Linked DNA regions of Homo sapiens: all the other regions are linked to region 1. The links are contacts of gene promoters, found by promoter capture Hi-C in human tissues and cell types (Jung and others, 2019). All regions are on one chromosome and are shown on one strand. Each heading gives the region's core, a stretch centred on a gene start or on the middle of the fragment in contact. The rest is flanking DNA. Distances are from core to core; before and after follow the strand shown.

Region 1 (3,386 bases), core at 887-3,386:
CTTACTCCTTACAACCTTTCTCAGTAGATGTCTTATCCTCATTCTAATCTGTGAAGAAACTGAGGTTGGAATGCCTCATGACTTGCCCAAGGCCCAGCAAGCTTCATTTGTTCACTGATTTGCAAACATTCTTTAATCTTTCATCTGTGTGTGTTGCAGGTCCCCGAGGTATATCTCATGCCCACGTCACTGTCCCCTCTGTGGACATTCAACAGAGCCTGCTGGCCGGCTGCCAGCCACTCATTGACTCAGCAAGCCCAAGCCAACTCCTCCTGCCACCTTCCTCAAGTGTCCCCTGGCTCTTCAGTGGAAAATCCAGCTTGACTCCTCCCCGAGAGTTAAGTCTGGCCGATTCTCCCTCTGAATTCTGCCTCCCATCTGTACCCCCCTTCCATCCTGGCTACCCCCACCCTGGTTTGGCCCTCACTACCTTTCACAAGGACTGTTGCTGCAATAAGTTCCTTAGGGGTCTCCCAGCTGACTTCCACAATCTTTTCTCCCCAACCCCCTACACGGTGATTTCCCAGAAGCACAGCTCTAGTCCTGTCACTTCCCAACTCTAGAACCCTCAGAGCCTCCCATTGTCTACTTTTTTTTTTCTTGAGACAGGGTCTCACTCTGTCACCCAGGCTGGAGTGCAATGGCGCTATCTCGGCTCACTGCAACCCCCGCCTCCCGGGTTCAAGCAATTCTCCTGCCTCAGCCTCCTGAGTAGCTGGGATTACAGGCGCCCGCCACCACGCCCGGCTAATTTTTTGTATTTTTAGTAGAGTTGGGGGTTTCGCCATGTTGGCCAGGCTGGTCTGGAACTCCTAGCCTCAAGTGATCCACCCGCCTCAACCTCCCAATGTGCTGGGATTTCAGGCGTGAGCCACTGCACCCGGCCTGACTACTCTTTCCCTGGCAATTGCTGCGTCACCAAGCCCCAACCCACCCTGCTGAGTTTTCCTTCCAAGACTCCCCTCCCATCCAGCCGGCTTGAACCGGCCTCCAGTCACGTTGTTTGTTCAGCTAGAATTTTTCTCTGCCTTCTCTTCAAGGCCGCTCAAGCTTCATGAAGCGGTTCTTTATTCTGACTATGCCCACTTCTCTCATTTCCCTCATCACCCGGCCCCGCTCCACATACTGCATTTATCTATAAACTCCTGAGAGCCAGGAGTTTAGCCTGAAATCCTAGCTTCCTGGTTAAGAGCTGAAATGCCTTCGCACGGCGTGCAATGGGTGAACCCCACCGCCTGCTTTCTAACGGGTCCAAGCCGCGGGCAGGGGCCTGTGTTACGGAGCCGCATGACACACCAGGCCTACTGCTGGACCCCAACAAGCCTAGCCTCTGTGAATCCAGCTGTCCTCACAAACTGTCTCTTCGGGACACAAGCCCATCAGAGGCTTCCGTTTTCCTTTCATAAGATCTCATAACCGTCAGCTGATACCTGGGACAGGCACAGCACACATAGGTCATTCTAGAAATATTGGTGGTCTGAACAAACTCTAAGCTGGAGAGGACATGAGAATGATAGATCCGATTCCTTCTCTCAACAGAAGAAATCAAGGCACAGAGAAGGGAAGAGACTCGCCCTAGGTCCCACAGCAAGCAGCAGTACTGGAGCCAACACGGAGGCCCCCCGGTTTCACGGTCAGGGCTCGCTACGCTACACCCTGAACGCAGACCCAGGGCAGCGGCCTCGGCCGCCTGAGGCCACTGCCGAAGACTTCGCCGCCAGTCGTAACATCACGTTACTTCTGTCCCTCGCCTCACAGACTCCTTCGCTCTTTCCACTACAGCGAGAGGACTTCTCCAGGGCCGCATCACCCTGCGGAGGGAGGAAGACACGGTCTCTCACGAAAGGGTCTCCAGACAGTTCCGCTGCTCCGGGAGCAGCCCCCGGCCCCGCCCCCGCGTGCGCCTGGCCCCACCCCCAAGCGCTCCATGACCAGCCTCCACGTGCATCCGCCCCAGACAGGCCAGGCCTGGGAGGAGCCGAAGCCCCACTCCCCGCCTTCTTCATGAGATCGTCCCTATTGACGTCGACAGACAGAAGCCGCGTCCAGTGAGAAGGAAAGAACGGCCGCTATAGCCCTATCGGCTGCTACAACACCAAAACGCATCCACCTAACTGGCTGACGCTACACCTTGGTCTTTCCGGGTCCTTGCACGCTTCGCTCCAACTCCTGCAGAGCTGAGCCGGAGGGGAATCCGGAAGGGACACGCTGAACAGGTAAGACTGTGCTGCCTGGGGTGCCTACTGGCATCGATTCGAGGGCTGCCGCGCTCCCGCTGCAGAGCTCGGGGTGGGAGACAGGCGCGGCGAGGAAGGCCAGGGAAAGGGGCGGGGAGGGGCGGGGAGGAGTGAGCACGTGGAACGCCGGCGCCACCGGGCCTAGGTGGCAGCTGGGCCGGCGCGCTCCGCCCGTTCTGGGGCGCGTGGGGCCCTCCGGCCGGATCAGTGCTGCAACCGTAAACACGCAGGGAGGGCACCCCGAGTGTCGCCGCTGAGGGCGTTTCTCTAAGCGCTTCTCTGAGACCTGCTGCTGAAGGCCCCACCCGACACCTGGCGGGGGCTGGGCTGCGGGCCTTGGGGCGGTGTCCCCTGTGAATGTTCAGGTCAGCATAACAGGTTAGGTGTGGTTGAAGCTTACGAAGTGGCCGGCTCTGTGCTGCCGGCTTCACAGGCGCTAACATTTGCCAGCGCTATGATGTCCTTGTCAGACGCAGAAAGGGGTGCAGTTTGGTTGTCCGTCGGGGTAGCGCACAACTAGCAAGTGATGGGGCCTGGGTTTGGCCCTCGCCTCCACTCTGAGTTGTGAGTTAGCGAGAAAGCCACGCCTCGTGGGCTCCCCGGGGGCTTCAGAAACCATGACGCCTTTCACCATGGTGTTCTACAGGCATTGTCTTGTGACTCCAGCAGCGCAGCCAGAAGCAAAGAAAACTGAGGGGACGGCTTCCTAGAGGAAACAATTCCAAAGTCCCAAACTCTGATTTTAAATAACGATGGAAATTAGAGTCGCGGTGGTGTTCTTTTTTTTTTTTTTTTTTTTTTTTTTTTGAGGCGGAGTCTCGCTGTCGCCCAGGCTGGAGTGCAGTGGCACGATCTCGACTCACTGCAGCCTCCGCCCCCGGGGTTCACGCCATTCTCCTGCCTCAGCTTCCCGCGTAGCTGGGGCTACAGGCGACCACCACCTCGCCCGGCTAATTTTTTGTATTTTTAGTAGAGACGGGGTTTCACCGTGTTAGCCAGGATGGTCTCGATCTCCTGACCTCGTGATCCGCCCGCCTCGGCCTCCCAAAGTGCTGGGATTACAGGCGTGAGCCACCGCGCCCGGCCTGAGGTGGTGTTCTGTGGGTAACCAGGCCTGGGGGTCCTACCAACAGAGGTGGAATCCCTGTT
Region 2 (3,386 bases), core at 235-2,734, 1.5 Mb before region 1:
TTTAAATTGAACAACTCTCTGTCAACTCTTTAGCTATCCTGGGCGCCAGTAATATATAAAAGTGGATTGGCAGTTATTGAATCTCAGATAAAGGACTATTAGGGAATTGTATGGAGAGTTGTTCTTGATTTATACTTTCTTATATTAATATTAAGTAAACATTTTAATTAAAGCATCTAATTAAAGGTACAAATATCATTAAATGTAATACCATAGCAGCAAAGAGGTGATTTTTTTAATTGAAGGCTTCTGCTTTCTGGAGAAGGTGGTCTTGGAACTATCTTCGAAGAATGGAATAGACACTTAGAAAATGGACACTTAGAAATTGGTGCCTGATTGGGTGCAAAGGCAGTATAGAGTTTATTTTCTTACAACTGAACAAATATGCTGATTAAACAAATGAGTACCATAAATAAAAGGAGAAACAACAAAAAGCTGTTTATTATAAAACCATAGCTTTCAAGATGAAGATCAGATAAAGCACACATGAGATGGGCCCTATAAGCTCTGGCTCTGTCTACCCGGTGTCACTGCGGTTACTCCCTTTATCTGCCCTTTTACTGTGGAGGTTCAGAATCATGTGCTGAGTGAGACGGGACACCTGATGTCACAGGTTCTTTACACTTTCACGGATACTGTATTCCTGCAGGGATTACCCTTATTGCCTTATTAATATTTGACAGGGGCTGACACAGAGCCAGAACCTGCTAGATCCTTCATGAGTGAATGTACAAGTGAAGATTTGAATGAGATAGAATGCCATGCCTTTTTACTAAGTTCATATTTTTATCATGTACAGATACTTGTTTGAATAGTTGCATTCTGTCTCAGAAAATCATTATAGTGTTAACTGTAACAAGTTGGTTTACAGGTTAGAGGAAATGAGTGTGCAGTTTTGTAACTTTACTTGCAAATTGTTTAGTTTTATCTTTAGCTGTGATTGAATGTATGCCATTGTTTGATCAAGTGAATGGCGAAGTGATTGATTCCAAATGATTGTTTTTCTTGCTTTTTTTCATCCCTTTTCTTAAATTATTTGGACTAGGAGAAAGGAGGAAGAATGGCTTATTCCCGCTGTCTGTATTGCTTGTTTATAGTTTAGAATTCTTTGGAGTTCCATATGATCACGAGACAAAATTCCTAAACTAGAAATTGGTGTGATTTAATTGGTGTGATTTTTATGATTAAATTTGATTATCTTAGGTTATGGTCTTTTGGTAATTCCGAATGCTTATTGAAAGAAGTTTAAGTTAGCAATAATAATAATGTTTACCATTATTATTTAATTTAATTTATATGTGGGACTTTGCTAAAGACTTTGGCATGTAGTATTTAATCTTTAAAATCATCCTGTGAGATGTCAGTGGATGTTCTCATGTTACTAATAAGGGTAAATTGGTTTCTACAAGGTCACATAGTTCGTAAGGGCCTGAGCTGAGATTTGAACCTACATATGTTTGCTTTCAATGCCTGAGTCATTATGTTAAATTGTTCCTTCTTGTTTTTTCCAAGTATTTATGATGCCTTTCCCTTCACATATTACGGTAGCAGGATGTATTCTTACTTATATATTACTTGTTTAATATACTTTTGGTGGTTATTGTTGGTTGGTTTGACATCTTAACTAGTTTGGACAAAACTCTTTCATTTACTATTGTGTTTATGGTATTTAGAAATTGTGTGCGATTTTGTTTTTACAGCTAAAGGGAAAAACGTAAATTATTTTATTTCACATGCAATATCATTTTTTAATTGGCAATTTGGTCTAAACAGTTTTTAACAATCCTCTGAGACAGAACCCTGGTGTTGAGATATTTCTTTTACTAATATGTGTAAAACAACATCTCAAGTTGTTGTGTGGTATAACTGCAAGAGCATAGTACATGGATAGCACAAAAGCAGCCACGGTAAAAAAGCAAAGAGACGAGCAAATCAGATGAGAGAGAACAGACACGCATTAACTGATCCATCATTCATGATATGCTTAGATTTGTGTTTGAAAAGCTTGCAATAAATGTAAGAAATTCTTATTGATACAAGTATTCAACATCTTATATTAAAAATACAACCCTATCAATTTTATGTACTAAAATATTACAGTGGATAACTGTTTATTATACATTGGTCTGCCAGCACTTGTGTGGTAGTGTGGTATGTTTTATGAATCCAGCTGAATAGCATGTCTAGGCAGAACCAAATGTACAATTATATAAAATAGCCCAGGAATTACAGCCAAAAAACATTAATAATTATTGGCAACTCTATATTACTTTGTTTGCATCCTTATAGTGTTGGCTTATTATTACAGAAGAGTTAAAGTTTATTTTCAGACAAAACAGAATGTCTAAAGTGTGTTATATATTAATCCAGTTCTAAAAAGCTTTTACATTTTTAAGTTTTTAATTTTTCAGTCTTTACTCACTCATTTTTCCTGGTGGACGAATCCAGTTTTTAAAATAAAATATATTTTTCTTCCAAACAACCTTTTGTGTTTCTTGATCTGGAGAATTGAATAAATCTAAATAAGAATTATTGCTTCCAGCATTAAGTTTGTGCAGAAGTTTTTTGAAACCAACTTAATAGGACATCAGTATTGCCATCTGAAATCCAAATTTCTCTTATTTATTTATTTTTAAAATTGAGGACAAGGCCTTGCTACATTGCTCAGGCTGGTCTCAAACACCTAGCCTCAAGCAATCCTACTGCCTTGGCCTCCCAAAGTGCTGGGATTACAGTAAATATCTTTTAAATGGAGACTTACTGACACTGTGTAGAATATATTTTTTAATACTTCAAACTGCCCTAGCATCCATCTGACTTTTATTTCCTGCCTTCTTCAAATAGTCTTCTGCTCTCCTTGTCTAGCTAGCAACCCTCCATTCTTCCATTCCTTGTAAAAGAGAAATTGTCAGCATCTGCTTTTCTGTTGACCTATTCTCTCCAAACAGGCTATATGGTAAACAAACTGCAATGAACATTTTTTTTTTTTTTTTGAGATGGAGTCTCGCTCTTTTGCCCAGGCTGGAGTGCAGTGGCATGATATCGGCTCACTGCAACCTCCGCCTCCCGGTTCAAACGGTTCTTCTGCCTCAGCTTCCTGAGTAGCTGTGGCTACAGGCACATGTCACCACTCCTAGCTAATTTTTGTATTTTCAGTAGAGATGGGGTTTCACTATATTGGCCAAGCTGGTCTTGAACTCCTGACCTTGTGATCTGCCTGCCTTGGCCTCCCAAAGTGCTGGGATTGCAGGCGTGAGTTACCATGCCCAGCCGACATTTTTTTTTTTAGACGGAATTTCGCTTTTATCATGCACAGCTAGAGTGCAGTGGTGTGATCTCAGCTCACTGCAACCTCCGCCTCCCAGGTTCAATCAATTCTCCTGCCT
Region 3 (3,386 bases), core at 561-3,060, 1.3 Mb before region 1:
CTTAACACTGTTTTTGCCATATCCCATCGGTTTTGTACATTGTTTTTTGGTTTTCATTTGCTTCAAGAAATTTCTTCATTTTCTTTTTAGTTTCTTCTTTGACCCAGTGGTCATTCAGGAGCATATTGTTTAATTTCTATTTATTTTTACAGTTTATAGAGTTTCTCTTATTATTGGTTTCTAGTTTTATTTCATTGTGGTCTCAGGAGATACTTGATATTATTTCAAGTTTTAAAGTTTTGTTGAGACTTATTTGGGTCCTAACATACAGTCTATCTTGGAGAATGTTCTATGTGCTGATGAAAAGAATGTGTATGCTGCAGCTACTGAATGAAATATATTCTGTAAATGTCTGTTATATCCATTTGGTCTAATGTGTAGCTTAAATTCAGTGTTTCTTTATTGATTTTCTGTCTGGATGATCTGTCTAAGGATGAGAGTAGGGTATTGAAGTCTCTAACTCAGGAGTCCCCAACCACTGGTCTGTGGCCTGTTAGGAACCAGGCTGCGCAGCAGGAGGTGAGCAGCAGGTGAGCCAGCATTATCACCTAAGCTCTGCCTCTAGTCAGAACAGCGTCGGCATTAAATTCTCATAGGAGCGCAAATGAACCCTACTGTGAACTGCACATGCGAGGGATCTAGGTTGTGCCCTCCTTATTAGAATCTAATGCCTGTCCCCTGTCCCCACCATCCATGGAAAAATTGTCTTCCATGAAACCTGTTCCTGGTGCCAAAAAGGTTGGGGACCACTGCTCTAACTATAATAGTATTGGAGTCTTTCTCTTTAAATCTAATAATGTTTTGTTTATGTATCTGGGTGCTCTGGTGGTGAGTGCAGATATGTTTAGAATTGTTACATCTTTTTGCTGAGTTGATCTATCTTATATAATGGCCTTCATTGTCTCTTACTTTGTTTGACTTAAAGTCTGTTTTATCTAAGTCTACCTATTCCTGCTCACTTTTGGTTTCCATTTCCATGGAATACCTTTTTTATCCTATTACTGTAGTTTGTATGTTTCTTCAGAGGTAAGATGAGTTTCTTGTGGATATTATATAGTTGGATCATATATATATTTTTTTTCAAATCAGCCGATCTATATCTTTTCTGTGGAAAATGTAATCTATTTACATTCAAGGTTATTATTTATAGGGGGGACATATTTCTGTCACTTTATTAATTGATTTCTAGTTATTTTATATATCGGTTTCTTTCTCATGTTATTTACCACTGTGATTTGGTGGTTTTCTTTTTTTTTCTTTCTTTTGAGACAGATGCTTACTCTGTTATTTAGGCCAGAGTACAGTGGTGTGATCATGGCCTACTGCAGCCTTGAACTCCCAGGCTTTAAGTGATCCTCCCACCTCAGCCTCCTGAATATCTAGGACTACAGGCATGTGCCACCATGCCTTACTAATTAAAAAGAAATATAGCCGGGCATAGTGGCCCACGCCTGTAATCCCAGCACTTTGGGAGGCCGAGGCGGGTGGATCACGAGGTCAGGAGTTCGAGACCAGCCTGGCCAAGATGGTGAGACCCCATCTCTGCTAAAAATACAAAAAAATCAGCCAGGCACGTGCGTGTAATCCCAGCTACTCAGGAGGCTGAGGCAGGAGAATCACTTGAACCTGGGAGGTGGAGGTTGCGGTGAGCCGAGATTGCACCACTGCACTCTAGCCTGGGCAACAGAGCAAGAGCAAGATATATATAAATATATATATATTTATATATCTATATATATTTATATATATTTATATATAGATATATTTATATATATTTATATATATATAAATTTTTTTTTTTTTGAGACAAAGTTTTGCTCTCTCAACCAGACTAGAGTGTAGAGGCCTGATCTCAGCTAACTGCAACCTCTTGCCTCCCAGGCTCAAGTGATCCTCCTGCCTCAGCCCCCTGAGTAGCTGGGACTATGGGCACATGCCACCACGCCTGGCTCACTTTTATATTTTTTTATAGAGATGAGGTTTCACCATGTTGCCCTGGCTGGTCTTGAACTCCTGAGCTCAAGCCATCTGCTCCAGCCTCCCACAGTGCTAGAACAATATAGGTTTGAGCAACTGCACCTGGCCTTAGCTAATTTTTTTAAAAATTTGTTTCTAGGGATGAAGTCTCACTATGTTGCCCAAGCTGGTCTCAAACTACTAGGTTCAAGCATTCTTTCTGCCTCAACCTCCCAGAGTGCTGGGATTACAGGTGGGAGCCACTGCACCTGGCCAAGTTTGGTGGATTTCTGGAGTGGTAACATTTTTGTGTGTTTTCATGTTGGTAGTAGTTATCATTCTTTCACTTCCAGGGCTAGGACTCACTTAAGCATTTTTTTTTAGCACTGAATTTAACACTAAAAAAAGATGAGTTATCTCAGCTTTTGCTTGTCTTGGAAAGACTCTTTTTCCTTCATTTATGAAGGATAACTGCTGAGTATAGTAGCCTTGGCTGACAGGTTTATTTATTTATTTTTTTTCTTTTTTTTCCCCAGCACTTCTAATATATCTTCCCATTCTCTACTGGCTTATAAGTTTTCTGCTTAGAATCCACTGTTAGTCTGATGGGGGTCCCTTTATAAGTGACTACACACTTTTCTCTTGCTATTTTTGTCTTTGGCTTTTGATGGTTTGACCAAAATGTGCTGTGGAGAAGACCCTTTTTTATTGTTTCTGTTTGGGGATCTGTAAGCTTCCTGTATCTGGATATCTAAATCTCTTGCTAGACTTGGAATGTTTTTATCTTATTATTTCATTAAATATATTTTCTAACCCTTTGATTTTCTTTTCACCTTCTGGGACTCTGAAAATTTGAATATTTGATTGCTTTATAATGTCTCATGTCACATAAGCTTTGCATTTTTTTATTCTTTTTTTGCAATTTTTGACTGACTATGTTATTTCAAAAGATCTGTCGTCAAGTACTGAGGTTCTTTTTTTTCTGCTTAATCTAGTCTATTGTTGTTGCTTTCAAATGTATTTTGTATTTCATTCAATGAATTCCTCACTTCTAATATTTCTGTTTGTTTCTTTTTATAATTTCTATCTCTTTGGTAAATTTCTCATTCATATTCTGATATATTTGTGTTGTTTTTCAGTATTTGGTTGTATTTCACTGAGCTTCATTAATCAACATTTTGAATTCTTTTTCTAGGATTTTGTATATTTCTTTTTGTTTGGGATCTGTTGCTGGAGACTTAATTCTATTCCTTTTAAGATGTCATATTTCTTAGTTTTTTCATGGTTTCTATGTCCTTACATTACTATGTACACATCTGATGTAACAGTTGCTTCTTGAAGTTTTTTGAGTTTACTTTCATGGGGACGGACTTTTTCTGAAAATGTATCTGTAGTGCTGATTGGGTAGGGCATTTTGACTTTGATTCTGG
Region 4 (3,386 bases), core at 500-2,999, 1.3 Mb before region 1:
TTTTTAAAGCTAAATTAATTGCAATGTGTGGATCCTATTTGGATCCCAATTTAGACAAAAAGACTATAAAGAAAATCCTAGGACATCCTAAACAATTGTAAATTGGAACATTGACACACTATTTGATGAAATAAAAGAGTTGTTATTCATTTTAAAACTAAAATAGTAATAAGTAGTCATAACAAGGACCCTGATTGTTCAAAACAAATATTAAACTGTGGTCAGTAGGTATGTTTAGGAAGGTAGAAATATGTGTTACTCCTCTCAGAGAGGTTTCCATACCCGGTAATTAAAATGTAATAACTGTTGAAAGGAATCTGTATGATATAGTACAAAAAGCACTTGGAATTAGACCAAATTGTTAAACAGTGCAGTGGGAAGTTGCTTGACATCCACTTAAAATCCTATTAAGTAAAATGTCTAGCATAGGCAGGGAGGAAGCGTGATGCATGTCCATTAAATGTCTGTGTTCATCCTCTTTCCTCTCTGTAAAAAAAAAAAAAAAAAAAAAAGAATTTGCAAGCTTCAGCTGAGAAGAAGAAAAATCCAAGTAGGTCAAGTGATAGAAATTTCTTTCAGAAGGTCTATTTCAAGCCTCAATTAATCAGCATCCCTATTGTCCACTGCAGCTGACCTTTCTAAGACAAGAATCTGATTATGTCATTTATTGTGCTTAAAAGCATTTAGAGGAAAGTTCAGACTTGCAAGCATAGCTTACTGCATGGGGGCTTCAGGTTTGGCCTCCTGTCTCTCAGTCTCATCTACCAGTCTGCACCCCATGCCTACCTCACTCCTTTGGAGCTACTCACCACTCCCCAGAACAGCATGCTCTGCCCCTCCGCTCTGCACATGCTGCTCCTCTCACACATTCCCCTTTCCCTCCATCTGATGAATTCCTGCTTTTCTTTTTTCTGAGAAGGCTCCCTGGACCTCCCAGGACTAAAGTGCCTTTCCTAAGTGCTACCAGTAGCACCCTGTACTTCGCAAGTAGGAGACTCAAATCACTGGCTGTGGCTCCCACCAGACTTTGAGTTTCTGGAGGGCTGAGCCCGGGACATCTTCAGCCTTGATCCTCAGCAAAGGCAAAGTGCCTAGCACATAGTAGGTACTCAGTGACTGGTGGATCAATACTATTAGAAATCGAGAGAATGATTGGCACGTGTTTGATCTTTCCTGTCCTTTGCCCAGATCTGCTTTCTTGGAAGCTGCCCTGGCCAGTAATCTGATTCAGGCTCCAAGAAGAGGAAACTTCCTTCTCCCATTTGATGTTTTCTGTATCACCTTCCTTTTAAATTTTGGGCTGGGGATTGTTGATTATTGCTGTTTTTCCATTGTGCTTCCAAAGTTCAAATGTCTTATATTTCTCAATTTTTATCCACTAAACTGTTCAGAAGTCTTTGAAACAGGCCGGGCGTGTTGGCTCATGCCTGTAATCCCAGCAATTTGGAAGGCTGAGGCAGGCGGATCATGAAGTCAGGAGATCGAGACCATCCTGGCTAACACAGTGAAACCCTGTCTCTACTAAAAATACAAAAAATTAGCCAGGCGAGATGGCGGGCCCCTGTAGTTCCAGCTTCTGGGGAGGCTGAGGCAGGAGAATTGCTTGAACCCAGGAGGCAGAGGTTGCAGTGAGCCGAGATCGCGCCACTGCACTCCAGCCTGGGCAACAGAGTGAGACTCCGTCTCAAAAAAAAAAAAAGTCTTTGGAACATTTTCATGTGTCAGCTTGAAGTTGGCTTTGGGTATCAACACTTGTTATTTCATTCAAGCTCTTTGATGCCAACCAATGTTACATGGCCCATATCGAGTAGAAATAGCCTCATCATCTCTTAGGCCATGTGACCCATGTGAATGGTCCCTTTTAGCAGGCACCTCAGGAGTAGGAGGTTTGAAAGCACTTCCTCAGAGGGAGTAAGTGTGGGCTTGTCGTGGAGCACTCTCTTGGCTGTCCAGAAGCTTACATTCCAATCCTGGCTCTCTCTAACAAATCTGGGTAAATCCTTTTACTTCTCTGTATCTGTTCCTGGAGAAGTGAAGAATTTGTACCAGCTGCTCAACCGGAGGTTCATGAAGATGTCAAACCACAGAATACAAACAAGACACCTTCCTGGTCGCTCAGTGTACCCAAAGATTTTGGAGTGAGAAGATATTTTTATATGAAAATGAACACAAATATTTTTCAGTAGAATGTAAAATCGAGGTGAATTTTCAAATGAAACCCAAAGATTTTACTGAAAGAATTTGAGGAACATTGAGTTCTGTTAAGTTCCCTTCCTGTGATAACTTTCCATCACTGTTTTAGCCTCTAGCTCTGTCTGTCTGTCATCTAGATAACCCTGCTGAGTAGAACATTCCAGTCCTCAACAATGCTGGGTAAATAAAGCATGGCTATGATTTTAAAGCATGTATTATTTCCAAGAAGACACAGAATTGCCAACTAGGCTAATATACATACAGCCAAGCAGAGGCCCTTTGGAATCTGCTTTTAAAAATACCAAGAACCGTTTATAATTAATATATCTTAAGTAACTACATGCAGCAAACTGAGATTCTAGAAAGGCTTTTTTTCTAAATATTCTGTTTAGCTTAAACCAGGCCTTATTATCAAGAGTTCAGAATTTGTGGCATCTAAATTAATGAGCTTTTAACCTTGTAGAAACCTTGCCAGTTTGATTTATCCAAAACAAAATCATTTATTTGAAAAGAGCATTCCAGGGTATCATCTTCCTCATCTTCTGTAAGGATTCTATTTCTGACTATGCGAAGCTGATTTCAGTGCCTGTATCATTTACCTCCCTACCACAGTGAATCATTGAAAATTATATGGTAAGGATTCAGTTCTTTTCCTCACAGTTCATTATAGCTGTTTCTAATTATTGGTAGGTTTTCAGTGTATGTTTGTCTAAAGTTCTATCAATTAATAAATGGATCTGCAGAAAGCCAGTTAGTTTAAGGGGCAAGTAGATGGAGGGTGCTTAAAATCACACCCCCTGCTAAACATTTTGCTCTCCTTATTTAAAATAAAATCACAGATATTTTCTGAGAAGGAATAACAATTTGAGTGAAATAGCAGATGAGAAGTTGCCAATTTTAAAGTGAAAGATATTAAATATTTCTGGATTCTTACAGGATTCCACTTAGAAAAATCTAGCAAACCTGGATTTCAGCATCTTTTGCTTGACTTTAAGAGAAAAATAACACGATCAAATTAAAATTATACAGCTGTCAGCGTTCAAGTCAGGCAGTTCACAATAGACAAGAAAAATTGCCTTCCTAATACATATTGGTATAATTAAGCCATATGGAAGTCTCTGAATTCTCTCCTCCAGTTAGAAAATGGAGTGTTGGTTGCCACTGTTCTTTGTCATGAAGTGAACTAGGTAGTC

Evidence for each region. Contacts are between HindIII fragments. The study calls those that stand out against the background at their distance.
Region 2: a contact is called between a fragment that was not itself captured here and the fragment with the promoter of DCAF4 in region 1, in 1 of the 25 tissues and cell types used here (aorta).
Region 3: a contact is called between a fragment that was not itself captured here and the fragment with the promoter of DCAF4 in region 1, in 1 of the 25 tissues and cell types used here (dorsolateral prefrontal cortex).
Region 4: a fragment that was not itself captured here is called in contact with the fragment with the promoter of DCAF4 in region 1 in 1 of the 25 tissues and cell types used here (dorsolateral prefrontal cortex).

What each region holds. Positions count from the first base shown.
Region 1 is chr14:72,924,328-72,927,713 of GRCh38, forward strand. DCAF4 (DDB1 and CUL4 associated factor 4) reads left to right here and starts at 2,137. Exons shown (of 14, transcript NM_015604.4): 1 at 2,137-2,216. RefSeq lists enhancers at 249-1,115, 1,516-1,615, 1,906-2,175, 2,847-3,386 and a silencer at 2,346-2,405. The HindIII fragment of the contact is 2,487 bases long and covers 576-3,062 here.
Region 2 is chr14:71,454,325-71,457,710 of GRCh38, forward strand. All of the region lies in intron 2 of SIPA1L1 (signal induced proliferation associated 1 like 1), which reads left to right. Among named protein-coding and RNA genes, the nearest start is that of SNORD56B, 58 kb to the left of the region's middle. The HindIII fragment of the contact is 3,250 bases long and covers 1-3,109 here.
Region 3 is chr14:71,602,212-71,605,597 of GRCh38, forward strand. All of the region lies in intron 5 of SIPA1L1 (signal induced proliferation associated 1 like 1), which reads left to right. Among named protein-coding and RNA genes, the nearest start is that of SNORD56B, 210 kb to the left of the region's middle. RefSeq lists an enhancer at 3,251-3,386. The HindIII fragment of the contact is 3,041 bases long and covers 291-3,331 here.
Region 4 is chr14:71,666,379-71,669,764 of GRCh38, forward strand. The region is part of intron 10 of SIPA1L1 (signal induced proliferation associated 1 like 1); the gene reads left to right. Among named protein-coding and RNA genes, the nearest start is that of RGS6, 260 kb to the right of the region's middle. The HindIII fragment of the contact is 5,487 bases long and covers 1-3,386 here.